Regions from separate parts of the Homo sapiens genome. Here region 1 is linked to region 2. The links are contacts of gene promoters, found by promoter capture Hi-C in human tissues and cell types (Jung and others, 2019). All regions are on one chromosome and are shown on one strand. The core of a region is centred on a gene start or on the middle of the fragment in contact, and the rest is flanking DNA. Distances in the headings are between cores, read along the strand shown. Region 1 has its middle 49 kb from the start of SYPL1. Region 2 holds the start of ATXN7L1 (ataxin 7 like 1).

The links. Contacts are between HindIII fragments. The study calls those that stand out against the background at their distance.
Region 1: a contact is called between a fragment that was not itself captured here and the fragment with the promoter of ATXN7L1 in region 2, in 1 of the 25 tissues and cell types used here (H1 embryonic stem cells).

Annotation. Positions count from the first base shown.
Region 1 is chr7:106,059,871-106,067,133 of GRCh38, reverse strand. No RefSeq gene overlaps it. Among named protein-coding and RNA genes, the nearest start is that of SYPL1, 49 kb to the left of the region's middle. RefSeq lists enhancers at 4,236-4,285, 4,596-4,765, 4,796-4,925. The HindIII fragment of the contact is 4,142 bases long and covers 3,593-7,263 here.
Region 2 is chr7:105,872,790-105,879,450 of GRCh38, reverse strand. ATXN7L1 (ataxin 7 like 1) reads left to right here and starts at 2,852. Exons shown (of 12, transcript NM_020725.2): 1 at 2,852-3,073; 2 at 3,571-3,639. The coding sequence starts at 2,893. RefSeq lists a silencer at 2,600-2,809. The HindIII fragment of the contact is 16,114 bases long and covers 1-6,661 here.

The DNA.
Region 1 (7,263 bases), core at 4,414-6,913, 180 kb before region 2:
TAACTTTTTTCCCAAATATTTCTGATCCACCCCAGCAATGCTACTAGTAAATATTCAGAGATTCCTAATCCTAGACTCCTCAGGCATCCTAGGTTTTAGAAGAGAAAGAGAGTTCTCTTTAGTTAAGAACTTGCTGTGGGCCAGGTACTATGTGAGGTAGTTTGCATCCATTTCATTATTTAATCTTTACAGCACAGTGAGATAGGTTTTATTATTCCCCTTTGATGGATGAGGAAACAGAAGTGCAGAGAGGTTCATTAATTTGCCCCAAATCACACAGCAGAGCCAGATTTGACCTGAGATATATTTGGCTTTCTTGCCTATAGCACATTGCTCCTTAAACTAAGTGTGTCTGGCCAGGTGCAGTGGCTCACACCTGTAATCTTAAAACTTTGGGAGGCCGAGGTAGGAGGATTGCTTGAGGCCAGAAGTTCAAGACTTGCCTAGGCAACATAGTGAGACTCTCATTTCTACAAAAACTAAAACTAAAAATAAAATAAGTGTCTCTGACCAGACCTCCTAGCCTGGCTCACACTGTCTCCATGGTACAAAACATTCATATGGTCGAAAAAAAGTATTGTCTCTCAAATGACTGTGAGATTCCACTATCCTTTTATAACTTCACGATATAGAAAATAGTCAAGCTCTTGAGGTTAAAGTAATGTAACTCAGAATCACATGTGGTCCACTGTGAAAAAGCTTAAGGTGACCCAGGGTGCAGCTGTGACTTCCAGAAACGTGGAGACCAAAGGGGAGCTACATAAGGTGTGGAAGGTGCCGAGAAGCACAGTCCCAGCTTGGGGCTGGGGCACTTCCCACCCACCCCGCGGGCTGTGATTAGCCCCCACACCCTGTCCTGGGCCCTGCACTGGCCGCTGCACACCACGCCCCTGCTCTTTGTTCCCCGGTAGCAGAGCCAGTATAATTTCATGCTTCCTAATTTCTGAGGATAGTGAATCAATTCCCCCCACCAGTTTGCCTAGAAGAAGAGCTTATTTAGACAAACGCCTCCAAGGAAACAGTTGTAGAGAGTCACTTAAGAAAACAAGAGGCTGCTAAAGGAATGCTCTGCGTGCAGTGTGGAACAATTCGCAGTCAGCATGGGCGCTCCTCGGCGGGGAGACGCTCCCGGGCAGAGTGAGCACACCTGCCGCACATCCTTCCCAAAAGGAACTCCGCTCATTCCGGACGCTGGACTGCAAATAAAAACAGCCAACGCTAGAGTCCTGGAGTCGGGGAGGGGCTGGGACAAAGGTGAATGAACTTTCCTCCTCTGGCTTCAGATCAGCCTTTAGATTTCTCAGAATGCCTGAGGTCATCTAAGTGGTCTCTAAGTTACTGTCACACCACCCCCATTTTAAGGGGGTTCAGGGCAGCGTGGCTGGTGGGACCCTCTCCTGGGACACTCCTCCAGGCGCCCCCCCCCATCCCCTGGAGGTATTGGACTGAAAACAAACTGCTCGCTTTAGGGGACAAAGGGCACTGGGGGGTTGAGGCTGCAGAGAGGGAACCCCGGGAGGAGAAATGGCCTCGGGAGAGTGGATTCCAGCTTCCATAGAAGGCTGGGAAGGAGCCACCAAGAAGCTTCACCTCCAGTCCAGCCAAACGGTGAGCCGCGGAGCACACTGCTGGCTCCTGGCAGCCCTGAGCAGTTTCTATTACAAAAAGAAAAGGAGGGGAAAGGCTATGAATGCTGGCCTGGTTCCCAGAACAGAGGCTGCAGGGAAAATGGAAACAACTGTTCGCCGGCCCAGTGGGCTTGGCAAGGGCAGGTCAGGGCAGAACCAGAGGGCAGGTCAGTGCAGAACCAGAGGAAAAGGTGGGAGCCCCCAGGCTCTAGTCCCTGGGACCAGAATCACCCATGCCCCACCCCTTCAAGTCTCAGCTCAGATGTGGTGGGAGTGTAAAGAGTGCTGGATTGAGAGTTTAAGTTTTGGCTGAGCTCCTAACCAGCTTCCTCACATGCCCAGGAATCATGGACTCATAGCTCCCAGAGCCCAGGAAGACTCCCTCACCCACTAGGATGACTCACACAGTCCTGCCAGTCCTGGCTGACAGTGGTCCCTCCCATCCTGAGCAGCCGCCAGGTCATCGCATGCTCATGGCTCCCTCCAGTTGCCCTGCTGGACAGAGCGTGATGGAAGAGTGGAGAGCCCCAGCCGCAGGGTTCCTCTGCTCTCATCCCACTTTAGGTCTGCTCCAACCCCGTGAGGTCGGGCCCCTGCCTCCTGTGCCTTTCATGTCCCCAGCAGTTCCAGGGACGGGATAGGGACTCAGGAAGTATTTATGGCCTGGTTAATAACGAGCCCTGTCACAGCCTATGATTTGGGGTCCAATAAATCTGGGTTCCGATTTGGAGCCCTGCTGCCTGCTGGCTGGGAGGCTGAAATAAAGGCCTTGACCTCTCTAAGGCTCGGCTTCCTCCGCACTAAAGTGGTGGGTGCTTCACAGAGCTGATGGGAGGATAAAGGAAGTAAGCATATGGCCAGCAGAGGAGTCAGTAATAGCGTTCACCTCTCCATGCACCTGGAATCCTTGCCCACTCCCTCTAGACACAGGCTCAGAAGCCAGTGGAGCCTTTCAGGGTGGGGACCTCACTGGTTTTAGGGTCACGTCTGTTGCTGTGGAGGCAAATGGCACATCTGCTGGGCTCCACACTAGCCTGAGGAGAGGCCTTATGCTGCAGCTGTTTCCCAGCCGGCCGTGGTGAGGCGTCAGCAGGGCCCTGTTTAAACACAGCGCTGCGGGAGCCCCCACCCTGCACCTCAGATCCTTAAGACACCTGCTCCCTGATGCTCTCCCCAGGTCTCACCTGGTGGCAGGAGTGGAAGAAGTGATGGGATGAGTCACCACAAAGACCCTTCATGGAACTCATTAACTTTACAGAATAATGATTCTGGGACAGAGTGGATGTTTTTTTTTTTCTTTTTTGCCCCCAATTACTAAAAGAGTGGAGGATTTTAAATATACATAGTGTGCTCTGGTGATTGGCAAATTTAACCCCTGCTTGACTTAATTCTCAACAAGTCTCACAGTGATGCATTCTGGTGAGATTTCCAAGTTTCAGTCACTGCAGGAATGATGGAGGTGCATGGGTGCATGTCACTAGGGCACTTTATGGTTTACAGGGCACACTCACATACATTATTTCCTGTGATCCTCACCACAAATCTAGGAGGCAGGCAGGAAAGGAGTTCTTAGCCCTATTTTACAGACAATGGCATTGAGTCCCAGAGAGGTTGGGCAATTGCCCAAAGTCACACAGCTTATTTTTCGAAGCACAGTAACTCATGACCCCAGAGTTCACTTCATGTCTTCTCACAACAAGAGGGAGGAACAAGCACCATTGTCTGGCCTCATATATTGAGTTTTGATTCCTGGGTTCAGTTTCCTGTCACTATGCGCAGGGAAGAGACATGGATATCTGGAGATCAACTCCCCCTACTCCATGCTGTAGACTCCACTTTGGGAAAAGAGTACACAAGCGATGCAGGGGGGTGGGGGGTGAAAGAAATCCACATGTTTCATCCCCAAATACACTTCTTTGACATAATTTGAGATGGTTGTTCAGAGGGCCTGCAAACAGAAGGAGCCCTGCAAAGCTGTCTTTCTGGGGGAGATTTGCATCTGCAGAGAATCTGCATTGATGCAGCCAGGTTTTCTCAGGTTTTCTCAGAGGTCGTCCTTTGTCCAATCTAGGAAAAATTAACTGAAAATGGGACACCTTTAAAGGTCTGAAAGTAACATTTCCCATCAGTTCTCTCGGGGCTGCTCCCTGTGAGGTTTCGTCTACGTAACAAGATCATCTTGGCTCACCAGGCCTCCTCATCTTCTCCTCCCATAACCTATTTTGCCCCGATCCAAGCCCCCATTCTTTCTGTAACCTCAGGATGGTATATATACTTATACTTCCTGCACTGGCCGCTGCACACCACGCCCCTGCTCTTTGTTCCCCAGTAGCAGAGCCAGCATAATTTCATGCTTCCTAATTTCTGAGGATAGTGAATCAATTCCCCCCACCAGTTTGCCTAGAAGAAGAGCTTATTTAGACAGGAGGGTGGAGGAGGGTGGAGGGTGGAGGGTGGAGGTAATCACTCTGTGGTTCTCCCCCATGTGCACATTAACAAATTTGTCTGCCTTTTCTTTTATTAATCTGCATTTTGTGAGATGATTTTTCCATGAACATACAGAGGGCAAAGAAGTTTTTCCCTTGGCCCCTACTGTGGCTTCTCTGGACTGTGAGACCACCTTTAGTCTTGCCCAGGCAAGTTCTGAGGCAGGAGAATAGGGTCTGGAGGCAGGGAACCTAAGGCTGATTCACACTGACTAATTAGAACTAAATCAAAAGGGAAACCCCAACTTTCCACACCTAAGTAACAAAAGGACCAGAGGCTACTCCCTTTGTAAACACCCCCACCTGTCCGATTTGGTTGATTTCTGCAACCAATCAGACTGATTGCAGGCCACTACTTCATTTGCATGAAGTGTACACCAAGTGGCCTATGGGAAACCTCTAGGGGGTATTTGGACCCCTGAAGATCCTGTAACCAGCACCCTTGAACCGCTGCTCAGGCCTGCTCCCACCCTGTGGAGTGTACTTTCATTTTCAATAAATCTCTGCTTTAGTTGCTTCATTCTTTCCTTTCTTTGCTGTGCATTTTGTCCAATTCTTCGTTCAGAACACCAAGAACCTGGACAACTTGCAGTCAAGACCCTCCACCAGTAACAGTTCTAGCTGTCTCGACACACACAGAGGCTCGCCGTAGGCCCTGCTCCATTGATGCCCTGGGCAGTGGAGCCACAGAAGGCACCTCTGACCCAGTGCTCTGTCTCAGGCTGGTGCAGGCCAGGGCCTGAGCCTGGGCAAGGCAACACTGCACCCCTGTGAATCATGCACCCAGCAGGGGCTGTAACAGGGCTGCAAAGCCACCACCAGGCAGCTGCTGGCAGGACTAGGTTAGATGGTGGCATGCAGGGCAGGCAGGGCCTTCTGCACGTAAGAGGGACAGTGGCACTTCAGTCCCACCAGAAAACCCCTTTCGTCACCCATATGTTCAGCAGCCACGCACTACCTCCCGCTGTGGTGTATGCAGTACAGAGGCTGCTGAGTGATTGTGGAGGCAGCCAGGACAGAAGCTGGGAGGCATATTGTACAGTGACAAAGAACAAAGACGTTGGAGTCCCACGGCTTCAGGTTCGAATCCAGACTCCACTTCTTAGCAGATGGATGATCATGGGAAGTCATTGAGTCTCCCTGTGTGCCAGTGTCCTCATCTGTATACTGGGATAGGACAGCACCTCCCACAGGGGTTCTGAAGTGATGTAAATGCAATGCTTGGCCTGTAGTGATTGCCCCATCCATGGTTGATACCATAAGGGGTTAGTGAAATGCACTGTTTTTTGCAGCTGTGGTGCCATGCAAATAAAAGTTATTCTCAGGACTGCATATCGCTTTCACCCTGTCATAGGTTTCACATTTTATTTTGCTTATTTCCTGTCTCCCATTCGGAATAGAATCTCCATGAGGGCAAGGATTTAAGACTATTTTGTTCACTGGTATGTCCTCAAGTGTCTACAAGACTCTTTGTGCCTAATGGAAGCTTGATTTGTTGAGTGAAGGAAAAACAGGAAAAAAAAAAAAAAGAGAGAAAGAAAGAGGAACTGAGAAAGAAAGAAATAAAATCTCCTTGATATACAGATGACAAGGACTATAGCGGGGAGCCATCACAGGCCAGAGACATGCCCTGCCCGCTGTTTTCATGAAGGCCATGAGAAACAACAGCGACCCTTGGAAGCTGGACTGGCTTAGGAGACATACAGGGTGGGACGCCAGGGAGGGAGAGGAGCCTCAAACCAGACTTAGGAGAGCAGAGCAGCAAGGAGAATAGCCATGACCCAGGGGCTCGCTCAGTCACACCTGACTTAAGGTTTCACCAGTTCCTAAGAGCGGCCAGTTGGGAAGTAGCACCCAAACCCCACTGCTTAGCACGTGTTATGTATTGCAGGGATCCCTCACCCCCAGGGCCTGTTAGGAACTGGGACACACAGCAGGAGGTGAGCAGTGGGTGAGTGCGCGTTGCTGCCTGAGCTCCACCTCCTGTCAGATCATGGCAGCATTAGATTCTCATAGGAGCACAAACCCTACTGCGAACGGTGCATGCGAGGGATCTAGGTTGTGCACTCCTTATGAGAATCTAATGCCTGATGATCTGAGGTGGAACAGTTTCATCCCAAAACCACCCCATCCTCCTTGTTCATGGAAAAATTGTCTTCCATGAAACTGGTCCCTGGTGCCAGAAAGGTTGGGGACCGCAGATTTATTGGACAACAAGTGATGCAAACGTTCATGGCATACTAAGCTGTAGCTAGTTCTCATTCCAAGTATGAGTTCAGGCATTTCAGGACATGCTTTCAGCTGCCTGTTGAGGCTCTTAAAGGCTAACCAGGAAAGGTTTCCAAACAAGGTAAGCTCCCAAGGAAGAGTGCCAGCAAGATCCTGCGTGAGCGGGCCACATGGGCAGCCCCTTAGGAAAGGTGCCTTGGCAGACCTGGCTGCAGGCTGCGTGGGCTGCTTGTTACACACAGCTTTTGCCTTGGACAATAGCCTGATAAGGCTGCACACTAGGGAGAGGGTAGCTTTGTGGCCAGCTGAGGGAGTCCCTTTCTACCTGAACTTGGTCTAGAACGTGCTAGTTGTCAGCCATGTTTACCGTACCATCAATAGCCTGTCCTGAGGTCCTCCTGGAACTCAGTGTTGGGCTTGTGAGGTGCAGCGAACTACTTTTCTGATTGAAAATATGCTCTCTAGGCCGGGTGCAGTGGCTCATGCCTGTAATCCTAGCACTTTGGGAGGCCGAGGTGGGTGGATCACCTGAGGTCAGGAGTCCAAGACCAGCCTGGCCAACATGGCAAAACCCCGTCTCTACTAAAAATACAAAAATTACCCAGGCGTGGTGGCGCATGCCTGTAATCCCAGCTACTTGGGAGGCTGAGGCAGAAGAATTGCTGGAACCTGGGAGGCGGAGGCTGCAGTGAGCCGAGATTGTGCCACTGCACTCCAGCCTGGGCAACAGAGCGAGACCCTGGCTTCAAAGGGGGAAGAAAAATGTTCCCTAAAGCCCACCTGGCCGGATAAGACCTGGGGAAACATCAAAGGAAAGGATGAAGATGGAGTGAGGAGGTGTTTCTAGAAACTGGAGGATCTGCCACACTCGCCATTGGTGAGGACAGGAAGGGAAGGGGCAGGGGCAGACTCAGGCTCTG
Region 2 (6,661 bases), core at 1,603-4,102:
GGATTAAGCTCCTCACTGGCTGTTGTATTGAGGGCCTCAGTTCCCCACTGGCTGATGACCAGAGGCCTCCCTCAGTTACCTGCCACACAGTCCTCTCCATAAGGCAGCTTACAACATGGAAGTGGGCTTCCCTTAGAGCAAGACAGGGCATGCAAGAGAGAGTGAGAGCAACAGAAGTGACAGCAGTTTTGTACCCTAACCTCAGAAATGACATCCCACCACTTTTGCTATATTCTCTTTGTTATCAGCAAGTGACTAAGTCTAGCCCACACTAAAGAAAAGAGGATTACACAAGGGCATGAACACCAGGAGGTACAGACCTTTGGGGCCACATTAGCTGCTGCCTACACCTTCCTTGCATGCACAACAACACAGGAATAAACATCAAAATAGATAATAAATAGAGGGAAAATAGGGAAGCAGAAGGGAAAGGGAAAGTGTTCCAGCATCTAATTACTCATGCCTCAGAGCTCTCGCATTCTCTCTCCCCACCTCTAAATCTAGCCCAACAGCACACCCTCTGATCAGGTGCTCTCTTCACAGTCTCACACCTGTCTCCTCTTCTCTACCTGCATAGCACCACCAAAGTTCAGGCTTTCATCTCTTCACACCATGAATATTGCAGCACTACTTTTCTAACCAGGCTCCGTACTCCAATCTTTCTAACTCACACTTTTAACTTATCTTTATGGTACAGAAAGCCCTTCAGTAGCTCCCCATTGTCAAACAAAATCCAGACTCTTTAGGCTGCCGTTTGGTGCCTTCCATAATTTGATCCAGGCCTGGGTATCAAAATGCATCACCCCCAAGCCCCCAGTAACAATTCTCCATCCCAGGCAAACCATGCTCAACACCCAAACACACCATGTTTATACTCAGCTTGAAGCCTCTGCTAATACCATTATTCCCCCTCCCTCCGCAAGACCAGTCTTCACCTTACCATTACAAATCTTTGGCAATTTCCAAGATGCAGAGCAGAGCCCATCTTCTGTTACGCAGTTTCTGTTCACTCCTAACTAGATTTCGGTTCCTCTATGAACTGGCACAGCTGAGAGACCACCCCACCCACTGCACAGGCCAGTCCCTGTGTACCTGCCTGTTTTCCCAAGGAATCGGTAAGTTTCACAACTTCCTTCTTCCAGAGACCACCAGACTGCATCTCTGTGAGGGTGAGGATGGGTCTCACTCATCTTTCCCTCCTGACAGGAGGGCACAGCTGTTCCATGACAGGCAATATTGGTTGACTTAAGATGGACAGATGGAAGGAAGGAAGGAAGGAAGGAAATGTCAAGCCCAGGGTCTAGCATATAACAAGAGGTCAACAAGTAATACATATTTGTTAACACCACCAATTCTTACAATGGGAATTCTTCACCCAGCGACACCTTAGCTATGTAGGAGCCCTTCGAAAGAGAGCAAAGGCAAATGCAGTTTATCTGAGTCTGACACAAACAAGCCGACTCACACAAACATCACAACTAAAGGCAAATCCGCAGCTCCTCCTTCATCGCCCATCCTAACACTGGCTTAGCGATACAGGGTGCCAAGCTCAGGGAAATTATTAGATGGTTCAGCCAGGGCAGAACTCAGTCAGTACAAAGCAACTTCCAATCAGTGCGCTTCAGCTGTGACAACTTGGGAAACAGCAGTGGTGAGAGCTAAAAGGGTGCTGGCGAAAGAGAAAAAAAAATATGTCGCTTGTGGGGTGAGGGCGGTGTCCATATAGTTTAGATAATTCTAGTAAACAAAAGGATTTGTTAAAAAGAAGTAACAGAAGACTTTTTAAAGCCTTCTTTAAAGGGTGAAAATCTCAACTAAAGCACCCAACGTCCAAAATCCAGAGGAAATCTAGCGCTCCCTTTCTAGCTGGCTAGAGCAGTTAAGCCTGAAGTGAATTCTCCCAGGAATCAGATTCCTGGCCAAAGGTTGCCTGCGCAAACCCGGGCCACCCTCGTCTCACGGCAGGGAGCGCTGGAAACGGCTCAGGGGCTAGGCCCGTTAGCGTCGTCTTCCAAGAGCCGTAAATTCGCCCTCCCGCTCTGCTGACCCTGGAGCAAAGTCCATGCAGTGGTTCTCTGAGAGCCGGAGATACGCACCGCGCGGGGAACCCGGGGGTCCGGGGGCCCTAACTTTTGAGTTTTGCACGCCCCGCAGCCTGAGATGGGAAGGTAGCTCGTAGCGCTCCAAACTCACCTGCGTTTCAGAACGACATCTACCCACTGGTTTCAGCTCCTAGAGCAACAACTGCAGAATCTCCATGGTCCAAAGTCCTCCAGGAAAGAGAAGAAAGGGGTGACGGGGGTGAGGGCTGGGAGGCGAGGTCACCAGGGTCCCTTCCCTGGCTCGGGTGGGGGTGGGGGGCGCAACCCCTCACGGCTCCTCCCCACCAAGCCGTCGGGACCCCAGCGGGGGCGCCTCGCGTTGGGCGACAGGGACGCGGGGAGAGAGCGACAAGCTGGAAGCAAGGGCTGCCTGCAAAACTTTCGGTCCTCCAGCGGCAACTCTGCGGGAAAGACCACCCTTCCTTCGGCCCCGCGTCGGGCCTATCCCCGTGTGCCCCGACCCCTGCGCCCCAGGCTTGGGCGGCGCCGCTGCATCCCGGCTGCCGGGCGCGCTGCAGCCTTCGCTCTCCCGCACGCGGCGCTCGCCCGTCCGCGCTGCCCCTCCCCGGCAGGCGGGCGGCCCCGGCGGGCGGGCGGGCGCGGACTGCAGGTGCCTCTCTGCTGCCCCTGGCGGCCGCGGGCGCGCGAGCCCCACCGAGCCGGCTCCGGGAGCCCGAGCGCCCGCCCCTCCTCCGCTCCCTCTCCCCTCCTCCTCCGCCGCCCTCCTCCCATCCCGCCCTTCCTCCCTCCCTCCCCCTTTCAGAACACTCAATGTCGGAACGTTCCGAAGATGACGTCGGAGCGTTCTCGAATCCCGTGTCTCTCGGCTGCTGCTGCCGAAGGAACAGGGAAAAAGCAACAAGAAGGAAGAGCAATGGCGACACTGGATCGCAAAGTGCCCAGTCCGGAGGCGTTTCTGGGCAAACCCTGGTCCTCCTGGATCGACGCCGCCAAATTACACTGCTCCGACAGTAAGAACCCCACCACCTCCTCCTCCTTTTATTATCCTGTAACCTTTCCATTCACCTAGAGCCACTGGGAAAAAGTGTGTGTGTGAGAGAGAGAGTGGCCCCCGGTGTCCTCCATGCTTCTCCCTCTCTCTCTAAATAAATACACACAGAGACAGATCATCAATGCACAGGGAGAGGCCCGGCTGCCAGGGCTGTCTGTCTGTCTGTGCCCGGCTCCCCGTGGCAGCCCGCGGGGTGGGCTCGCAGCCCCACGGTGTTGTCCGTTTAAAAGGCTACTTTGTTGCTGCTTGCATAGTTTTTTGGGTACCTATCTGGGCCAGGTAGATGGAAACCCAGACTTGGGAGAAAATGTTGCATTGTCAATTTTTGAAAGAATTTCATATACAGTATTTATATCGATCTGTTTGCAAATAAACACTCTCCCTCCCCCCTTGACTTTGGCTTTTTTCCCCCCTTTTTTCCTTATTTTCTGTTTTCCTTTTCTTTTTCATCTGCAGATGTAGATTTAGAAGAGGCTGGAAAAGAGGGTGGAAAAAGCAGGGAGGTTATGAGGCTTAATAAAGAAGGTAAGTGGAGCTACTGGCATTTTAGTGTTAGCATGTGTGGCAGAATCTTCACAGGATTTCGAATATAATGTGAATTGTTCTGCTGGGTACAGAGTGACTAAGGCTTGTCAAAAATTGAGCACGCCCAGGTGACTACTGCTTCATGTTAACTTCTTTCAAAGTATAAATACAACTGGGGGGGGGGTAAAGGGGGGTGAGACTGTTGAAGGCAGAAGTTTACTGCACTTCAGTTGGACTCCACGTTTGAACCTTCTGATGCATATCTGCCATTCTCCTTGGGAGCATCATTGCCAAATGGTGGGGCGTTAAAATTTCTGAAATGAAGAGTGGAGTTCCCTTCACAAGCATCCCAGCCTTTCTCGTGGGTGAATGCACAACAGCTTAATGAACCCCACATGGTCAGTCATTCCAGCAGCTACTTCTCCACTCACCACTGAAAACCATTGTACATGGCAAACCTTTGCAGCAAGTTACATTTGGCCCACTTTGCATTTGGTCACAGATTGTTATGTGGCAAGCAGGGTTAGGAGCATCTGTATGTGCAGCCCCTCAGCAGTCATCATCTCTCTTTTCCCAGCATGGAAATACGGTACCTGAAATGGGACACACTGAGTAGATAGGTCATCCCAGACCAAGATATGCAAGAGAAGCCACAACCTGCTGCAATTGGGCATCAAACACATATGGTCGTCATAAATAAATCATATCCTGTTCTCATTTGCAAGCCTGCCGTATGTAACTCTGGCCTATGGGCTTCAAATGGAGCAACTCCGGGGGCCACTTGCTGCTAAGCAAATAGGTGGATTCATTTGAATTGTGATTCACTAACTGATGTCTTATAAACATAATTGGCTGAAATTGGGGGTGGGAAGATGGCACAAGGGGACAGAAGAGGTTGGTGGTATTGAAAGAGTTCAGACATAAGTAGGCCATAGGTGCATTGGTCATCCCAAATGAATGGAGAAAAGGCCATTAGATGCCAAAGAATGGTCCCCCTCATAAAAAGGGATGTCACCCTGGAAGGCAGCTGAAGCCTGCGTGGAAAGATGGAACTCATTTTATGAATCAACACTTCAGATGGTTGGTTTTCTGTGCCCAATCATTTCCTGACCATCCACTGAGAGGAAATTTTGTGCTTCAGAAAAAATAACATGAAGGTTAAAATGCGTACATATTCAAGGACAGTTCCCTAGCATAATGTTTCTGCTAATTAAGCACTTTGGGAACAAAACATTATTCTAAAGATGTTTGCTTCTAAATATCTTAGTGTGATCTTGACAGGTGTCTTCAGGATGCACGAGGGATTGATGTCAAGTGGACTTCTTACAAGTGGCAGCTTATTTGTGTTAAATGTTCATGTGTGTTGGCAGTGGGAAGCATCACTAGAGATTATTTTTCTTCACACACAAACTCTTGAGATCTCTAAGTGCTTGCAAGACCCAGTTATCAGGCTACTGGCAACGTGTCCATAAAAGATGATGAGGCTGTGGAAATCTTTAAATTAAAGTTGAGTAAAGGTCATGGTATAGCACAGGATTGTCACCTCTCAGGTCTGGGTGATGCGTTATGACTATCACACACAAAACTCACATCCTTTCCCCCCAGTCCCTGTTTCTATTTCAGAAGACTGTTGTTCTCAGATTCTCTTTGCCTCATGAGAAACAGATTTTTTTTTTTTTTTTTTTTTTGATACGGATTCTCACTCTGTCGCCAGGCTGGAGTACAGTGGTACGATCTTGGCTCACTGCAACCTCCGCCTCCCGGGTTCAAGCGATTCTCCTGCCTCAGCCTCCTGCATAGCTGGAACTACAGGCACGTGCCACCACACCCAGTTAATTTTTGTATTTTTAGTAGAGACGGGGTTTCACCATGTTGGCCAGGATGGTCTTGATCTCTTGACCTCGTGATCTGCCCACTTGGCCTCCCGAAGTGCTGGAATTACAGGCATGAGCCACCGTGCCTGGCTGAGAAACGGATTCTTTTAAGAAAAAATGAAAAGCTCTCCTTTCCTCAGAAGTCACAGGTGGTACATCCCGCTTATTAGGTCCTTTGTCCTATAAAGGTACGAAGATTTAGCTCCTAATTATACATATTTGCATTAAGGACACCCACTGTTCAGTGTAACTTGAAATTGCTAACTTCACCAAAATAGCCATATATGGGCTGAAATCTCTTTGTTCACAGGCCTGGTGGAACAGACTTGGGTGAGCAATTCCTGATGGTCTTTCTGGTATATATGCATGCAGTTTTCTTTATAGATAAAATATCTATATACTGAATACGTATTCCCCCATGGTGAGAAATTGAAGGGTTGAGCTGAGACAGGGTGTTTATTTGGTTACCTGGATCTCCAGTAATGCTTGCCATGGGCCCTCTTTTTGGAGTGATCAACAAAGTCCTGGGACGGATACATGTTTGTGGATGGGTCACTGCAGGACACAAAGTAGCCTGTGTGTGGCTGTGTACCTGTGCTTATGAATGTATGTAGATTGTCCATGACACTGTTGGCTTTAAGCAGGTCTTGAGAAGAAATTCGGCTTTAATGGGAATGAATGAACAAAATACAGTTTAGAAATTCCAACTGGGAATTGAAGGGAAGTGGTTCCGATTTTTGTTGTTGTTGTTGTTTTGTTTTGTTTTGTTTTGTTTTGTTTTTTTGAGACGGAGTCTTGCTCTGCCGCCCAGGCTGGAGTGCAGTGGCGCAATCTCAGCTCACTGCAAGCTCCGCCTCCCGGGTTCACACCCTTCTCCTGCCTCAACCTCCCAAGTAGCTGGGATTACAGGCGCCCGCCACCAAGCCCGGCTGATTTTTTGAATTTTTAGTAGAGATGGGGTTTCACCGTGTTAGCCAGGATGGTCTCGATCTCCTGACCTCGTGATCCACCCGCCTCGGCCTCCCAAAGTGCTGGGATTACAGGCATGAGCCACCGTGCCCGGCGGGTGGTTCCGATTTTGATGTTTTTTTTTTTTTGTGGTAAAATATACATAGCATAAAATTTATCATTTTAACCATTTTGAGTAT